2 separate regions of the Homo sapiens genome follow, and region 1 is linked to region 2. Evidence: promoter capture Hi-C in human tissues and cell types (Jung and others, 2019). All regions are on one chromosome and are shown on one strand. Each heading gives the region's core, a stretch centred on a gene start or on the middle of the fragment in contact. The rest is flanking DNA. Distances are from core to core; before and after follow the strand shown.

What was found. The method cuts DNA at HindIII sites, captures the fragments that hold promoters and counts their contacts. A contact is called where the count stands out against the background at its distance.
Region 1: a fragment that was not itself captured here is called in contact with the fragment with the promoter of TNNT1 in region 2 in 1 of the 25 tissues and cell types used here (neural progenitor cells).

Annotation. Positions count from the first base shown.
Region 1 is chr19:55,717,841-55,721,579 of GRCh38, reverse strand. The region is part of intron 4 of NLRP9 (NLR family pyrin domain containing 9); the gene reads left to right. Among named protein-coding and RNA genes, the nearest start is that of NLRP9, 19 kb to the left of the region's middle. The HindIII fragment of the contact is 6,338 bases long and covers 1-3,739 here.
Region 2 is chr19:55,147,834-55,151,508 of GRCh38, reverse strand. It overlaps TNNT1 (troponin T1, slow skeletal type), which reads left to right and starts at 2,303. Exons shown (of 14, transcript NM_003283.6): 1 at 2,303-2,348. The HindIII fragment of the contact is 19,018 bases long and covers 1-3,675 here.

The DNA.
Region 1 (3,739 bases), core at 1,039-3,538, 570 kb before region 2:
TGGACTACTGAGTGCTAGCCTGTGAAGTGCCCTAGGAGAGATTAGAGTGATGCTTCTCTTCTGGTGGTGGGAGGGGGTCAGCTTGGCTAAAACAGAATGGGGTATTTGCCTAAATCCAACCCAGGGGCTCTTGTACTAGGAAAAAAACATCTAATACTGTGCAGTGGCCCTGGACAAACATTTTTATGGATACCACACCTTAATTCGTGTGTATCTGGAAACCCTTATGACAAACACCTGTTTCTCCACATCAGCCATTTTACTTTGTCATTGTTGTTTACTTTTTATTGAAAGATTATTATACTCACAGGAAATTACAATAATAGTACAGAGAAGTCCCATATACCAATCACCACCCAACTTCCACCAAAGGTAACATCTTACATAACAATAGTGCATTCTTAAAACTAGGAAACTTTACTAATGAAATGTACAAAGCTGTTTTTAAAAATATGCTTTTATGAAACTTCCAGTGAAACTAGACTTAATCAGTATCTTTTAACCAGAGGCTTCACCAGATTATTTGCCTATGAAATGAATGTGTTCCACTTGTCCCGTTTTCTCCCCAACACTTAAGGGTGTTGATCTTTTCAAATCCATTCTGCTTCGGGCATAATATCTGAGTGGTTTTAATTTGCATTTCTCTAATGACTAATAATATGAGCGCCTTTTCATTTGTTTGACTTTCTGGGCTTCCTGTTGTGATATGTCTGTTTGATGTGCTGATGTAGCCCATTGTTTTATTGGGCTGTCTTTTTCTAATTGATTGACAGGTGTTTTTCTTATATTGCGGAATGAATCCTAGGTCAAATACATGCATTGCAAATATCTTCTATGTGGTTTGGTTTTCCACATTCTTAATATCATCTTTGAATTAAGAGAGATTCTTTATCAAAACTGAATGTGTCTTTTCGTGTTCAGCTGCTTTTTGTGTGTGTTTAGGGAATCATTGCCAGGCTTGGTGGCTCATGCCTGTGATCCCAGCAGTTTGGGAGGCTGAGGCAGGAGGATTGTTTGAGGCCAGGAGTTGGAGACCAGCCTGGGCAACATAGTGAGACTCCCGTCTCTAAAAACAAAACAAAAAAATTATCTAGGTATGGTGGTGGATGCCTGTAGTCACGGCTTACTCATCAGGCTGATGCAGGAGGATCTCTTGAGCCCAAAGGTCCAAGGTTGCTGCAGTGAGCTGTCATCACGTCACTGCACTGTAACCTGAGTGACAGGGTGAGACCACGTCTCAAAAGAAAATAATTGTTTCCAAGCCCAAAGTCATAAGAATAACTTCCTGTGCATTTTTCTCTCAAAGTCTTATTGTACCATGCACAAGTGGGGCTATGACCTACTTTGAGTAAGTGTTTCTATGTAGTATAAAGTCAGGTTTAAAAAAAATTCACATATGAACACAGAATGCTGTTGAAAAACCACTTTTTCTCAAGTGAACAACAGTAGTTATCATTATAAACCAGATGACCACGGTGTATTTGAGACCAAAAATATCTGTTTTGATTTTATTTTTGTAGATTTTTTTCCCCCACACATCAGAGAATTGTAGGTTTTCTTTCACTGTTTTCTTTCTTTTGTTCTTTTACATGTTAAAGATGTAATTCCATCCCATTCAGGCTGCCATGCTTTTTCTAAATAAATCAGTATATTTCGTCCCATTGTAGGCAATGTGCTTAATGTGTCTTGTCTCTGGCTAATTTTAAGTTTCCCCTCCCACCCCCATTGTGTGTGGTTTTGGTATTTCTTTGTGTTTATCCTGCTTAAAAATTCACTGAGCTTCCTGCATTTGTGGATGAACATTTGCACAGGCTTCTGAGAACATTTTACCATGATCTCTATCTTTAAATATGGCTTCTGCTACATCTTCTCTCCCATTTCCTCTTGGTCTGACAGGAGAGATCCCCATCATAGTTTCAATCGAGAGGCTTGAAGAATGAGGAGCTTTCTATGCGGCACAGAAGATAATTAGATACAGGCATGCAATAATTAATAAAAAGTCAAAAGACTGAGGAGCTTTTAAAAAATTATCACAATGGAGAGCAAACAATCCATGCATAAACACTTGCATATGCATTGCCCTTTGAGCGGGATGGAGAAGACAGATCTGAAGGTGGCCAGGGGCCGGGCCGGGCATGGCGGATCACACCTGTCATCCCAGCACTCTGGGAGGCCGAGGCGGGCAGATCACTTGAGCTCAGGAGTTCGAGATCACCCTGGCCAACATGGTGAAACCCCGTCTCTACTAAAAATACAAAAATTAGCCGGGTGTGGTGGCAGGTGCCTGTAATCCCAGCTAGTTGGGAGGCTGAGGTGGGATCTCAGCTCACTGCAGCCTCTGCCTCCTGAGCTCAAGCAATCATTTATGAAATGTAATTGTTTTCCTGAGGTCTGTGATCCACTCTAGCAAATCAGTCTAACCCAAGGAAGGGGTCAGGGGAACCCCCATGTATAGCCGGTTGGTCAAACACAGGCAGAGCAACCCAGCGCTTGCAACTGGCATCTGAAGTCAAGGGTGATCTTGTGGGACTGAGCTCCTACCGTGTGGGATCTGACTCTCACCTAATTTAATAAATGATCTGAAAGATACAGATGTGCAGCTGGGATCTGACTCTCAATTTAATAAATGATCTGAAAAATACAGATGTGCAGCCAGATAGACACACAGGATGAGATCTGGAAGGGTCCTGAGTGTGAAGGGGGCCAGCCCCTCCACACCTGTGGGTATTTCTAGTCAGGTGGAGATGAGAGACTCAGAAAAGAAACAAGACACAGAGACAAAGTATAGAGAAAGAACAGTGGGCCCAGGGGACAGACGCTTAACGTGCGAGGACCCGCACTGGCGCTGGTCTCTGAGTTCCCTCAGTATTTATTGATCACTATTTTTACTATCTTGGCGAGGGGAATGTGGCTGGGCAACAGGTGGGGAGAGGGTCAGCAGAGAAACATGTGAGCGAAGGAATCTGTATCATGAATAAGTTCAAGGAAAGGTACTGTGCCCGTATGTGCACGTAGGCTAGATTTATGTTTCTCTTCATCCAAACATCTCAGTGTAGCAAAGAGTCACAGAGCAGTATTGCTGCCAGCATATCTCGCCTCCAGCCACAGGGCAATTTTCTCCTATCTCAGAATGGAATGAATGGGAATGGTCAGCTTTACACCTAGACATTCCATTCCCAGGGACCAGCAGGAGACAGAAGCCTTCCTCTTATCTCAACTGCAAAGAGGCCTCCCTCTTTCACTCCTCCTCCTCAGCACAGACCCTTTACGGGTGTCGGGTTGGGGGATGGTAAAGTCTTTCCTTTCCCATGAGGCCATATCTCAGGCTGTCTCAGTGGGGGAAACCTTGGACAATACCCAGGCTTTCTCGGGCAGAGGTCCCTGCGGCTTTCCGCAGTGCATTGTGTCCCTGGTTAATCGAGACTGGAGGATGGCCATGACTTTTACCAAGTATACTGCCTGCAAACATATGGTTAACAAGGCACATGCTGCACAGCCCTAAATCCATTAAACCACGTGTTTCTGTGAGCACAGGGTTGAGGCTAAAGTTATGGATTATCAGCATCTCAAAACAGAACAGTTTTTCTTAGTACAGATCAAAGTGGAGTTTCTTATGTCTTCCTTTTCTACACAGACACAGTAACAATCTGATCTCTCATTCTTTTCCCCACACGAGTGCAGGAGCATCTGTCCCTGTGGAGCTGGGGCGTGGCGTGTGGATGTGTTTGCCAACCTGGAC
Region 2 (3,675 bases), core at 1,054-3,553:
GAAGGGCAAGGCAGGAATTTATGCTGAGTGGGTTAGCTAAGTGCACGTATTCAACTGGTTATAGAAGGAGCTATGAATATTCATGGACAGGTGGACACATGGACACACGCATGTGTGACAAGCAAACACTCATTTTTTTTTTTTTTTGAGACGGAGTCTTGCTCTGTCACCCAGGCTGGAGTGCAGTGGCACGATCTCAGCTCACTGCAACCTCTGCGTCCTGGGTTCAAGCCATTCTCCTGCCTCAGCCTCTCCAGTAGCTGGGATTACAGGCATGCACCACCACGCCCAGCTAATTTTTGTGTTTTTCGTAGAGACGGGGTTTCACCATGTTGGCCAGGCTGGTCTCGATTTCCTGACCTCGTGATCCGCCCTCCTTGGCCTCCCAAAGTGCTGGGATTACAGGCGTGAGCCACCGCGACTGGCCGCAAACACATTTTACATGCATCCCACCTTCACTTGGTGGTGGAGGCTTAACATTTAAGTGCATTCCATTGAATGCATTCGTATCGAAACACGAAGCAGGGATATGAAGACACTCAGTGCACAGCCTCTGTCAACAGCCAGAACCAGTCCGTGGTCTGCGGCATCTTATCAGGAGAAAGTTACTGAAATCAGTCTCTTGTTCAACTAATGCTGTAGTTATGCCTTGTGGAACAGGGGGTTCAGCTAGTCAGCATCTGGCAATGGATGGCTGCAATGGTTGTAATATTGCTTATCTTGAGGCCGGTGCTTGTTTAGCTGCTAGAAAAAGGAAAAGCCTTGTGGCAGTTGGAACATAGTCGATTATATAAGTGTAGGGATGCGTGGCTTAACCCTTGCCTGGCATGGCCTTAGGTCTTGTTTATAATTTGGTATCTTATTGCCACAAACAGTTCATTCCATCAGTCTTCTGATCTCTATTGTCACAGCTCCTCTGGCCCATGTGGAGTGCACAGAGATGCCAAGACTAAAGGTCAAAGAGAGAGAGACACAGAGAAACAGACAGGCAGAGAGACATGACCGACAACAGAGAGACTGAGTTGGGAGTAGAGAGAGTAGGAGCCAGGCAAAGACCCAAAGAGAGAGGGAGAAAATACCACAAGATGCATAGAAGGAAGTGCAAAGAAAGGAGAAAAGAGAGACAGAGATATACTCACAGCAAGGTGCAGAGACATGGAGACCCTATAAGAGATGGAAATGGAGAGCCACAGAGGGGGAACTGCGGGCACTAAGAGAGACATGGAGAGAACTAGAAAGATAGAGACGTGAACACAGACACAGAGACCCAGAGCCAAAAAGAGACAGAAATGGGGTCATAGGTGGACAGAAATGCACAGAGAGACTGTGAGCCCCCACAGACACAAACGCTGAGAGGGGCAGACATGCAGAGACACCCACAGAAATGCAGAGACAAAACCACCCGGAGACACATGCCGAGAAACACACTGAGGGGCTCAGAAAGCGACAGATGCAGAGAGAGCCCAAGACAGACCCAGCAAGGGGCCCCGAGAAATGCACAGAAACACAAAGACCGAGACCACCAGAGACAGAGGTACGGAGAGGCGGGGAGGGTGAGGAAGCCTGCTCTCCAGGGCTGGCTTGAACCTAGAACTCAAGGTCATGGCTTGGCTGGGAAGCGGGAGGGGGATACCAAAAAAGATCAGCGTTAGATGGAGGTGGGGAGGGAGGGTAGGTTTCACCCTAATTGACACCCCACCCTCCCCCTCCCCCTCCCCACACCTGCTTCCCGGCTTTAGTGCCTGTTGTCACCAGGATGGAATCCTGGCGGCAGACAAAGGGGTGGGGGTGGGAGGAGGAGACAAAAAGATGGACAGAGACAGAGGAGGAGACTAAGAAGTAGAGACAGACACACAGAGACACACAGATGGAGAGCCACAGAGACAACAGAAATGGGGGTCCAGAAAGAGACCTAGATAGAAAGAGGGAACAGAGAGAAGAAAACAGGAAACATTCCTTATAGCCCATGTGTCATTAGTAGGTCCTCCAAGGACCTACTGTGTGCCGGGCATGGGGACGTCAAAGCACAGGGAGCTATAAGGGAGGTAGTTGGAGCACCACGGGAGCCTGGGGTGTGGGGTGGGAGCAGGGGCGGGGCTCCTGGGCCATGCAGATGGGGTTGGCATGGGGTTGGGGAGGGGCCCACGGAGGCTTCTGGACTCTGAGTGTGGAGCCAGGGGCAGCAGGGCTGTCTCTGAACTCCCAGGCTTGTGTTTGAGCAAAGGAATTCTCTCCCCCTCCCTCTCCCCTCGGGGCGGGCCCGAGCCTCCAGCTATAAACTCCCCGGAGCTTCAGTGCCCTCAGCAAGGCTCAGCCTCAAGATTCACAGCATCTCAGACACAGCCTAGGTAAGGGGCTCTGCGGAGCCCTGTGGTCTTCAAAAACCATGTCCTTGGGGGAGGGGGCAGGAGGCAGGTGGGGAAGATGTCGGGTGTGGAGAAATGGTGCAGAGGTAGGTGGGGCATACAACTGGAGGTCTGGGAACTTGAGAGGCTCAGACTTTAGGGGGACTCAGGATAGAGGGGAAAATACTAGGATTTGTGGGTTACACAAATCCTAACCCGGGGCTGCCAGGACTTGGATGTCCCAGAATAAAACCTCCTAGGATCTTGGGGTTCTGGGAATCTGGGGGAAATCTCAGCAGTCAGGGATATCTGGACTTGGAGGTCAAACAATCTGGGTGTCAGGATTTGGGGCCTCAGACTCTGAGGGTATCAGGAATTGGGGGGGTCTCAGAAGAAATTGGGGTTTTGGTAGTGGAGGGCTCGGAATCTGAGACATTATGATAGAAAGCATGAAAACTTAGAGTGCCATTATCTGGGGTATCATGAACTGGGCCTCCGAGTTTGGGTATCAAGATTTTGGGGGTCTCATATTCTTGAGGTTTCAGATTTTAGGAGGTCTCAAGACCTGGGGGTGGTCTTAGGATGTCCCGGCCCATATCTGGACTATCAAGAACTGGGATTTCAGAATCCAGAGCTGTGAGGACTTGCTGGCCTCAGAAACACGGGCATCATAAATCGGGGTCTCAGAATCTGTGGGTATTGGGATTTGGGGCTAGGCACCCTGTGGCCTAGGGTGTCTCAAAGACTTTGAGGTCTAAGAATGTAGGGGTCAGGGTGAGGTCTACGGACAGAAGGTGCCCTTTATGCCCCTGCCCCCTACGTGATGTATGGGAAGGTGAAAGGGGAGACAGGTGGGGAGGAAACCAGCCAGTGGGGTGGGGCGAGTGGGAGAGGGGATGCGGGTGACTAATTCTCCCAGAAGCCCCCCTTCCTCAAATCCCTTCTTAGGAAATGTCCTCGGTTTCACCATCTATGACATCCCCCCAAAATAGCTCCTGGGGGTGGGGCAGCTATTGTCTTCAGGCCACTGTCCCTTCTCAAATGCCTCTTCCTAATCCCAACTGGATCAGGTTCCCATGGACTTGTCATAAGACAAAAGAGGACAGCTGTGCTGAGGGGGCAGGGTCTGCAGCCTCCTGGCTGTGCCAGGACCACACCTACCAAGGTCTGTCCTCATGCATGCTTTAGGACAGCCGGCCCCCTCCCTCAGACCCAAGAGTCCAGACCTGAGCCCTCCTCCCTCAGACGCAGGAGTACAGGCCCCCAGCCCGCTCCTCCCTCAGACTCAGGAGTCTAGACTCCCAGCCTCTCCTCCCTTAGATCCAGGAGT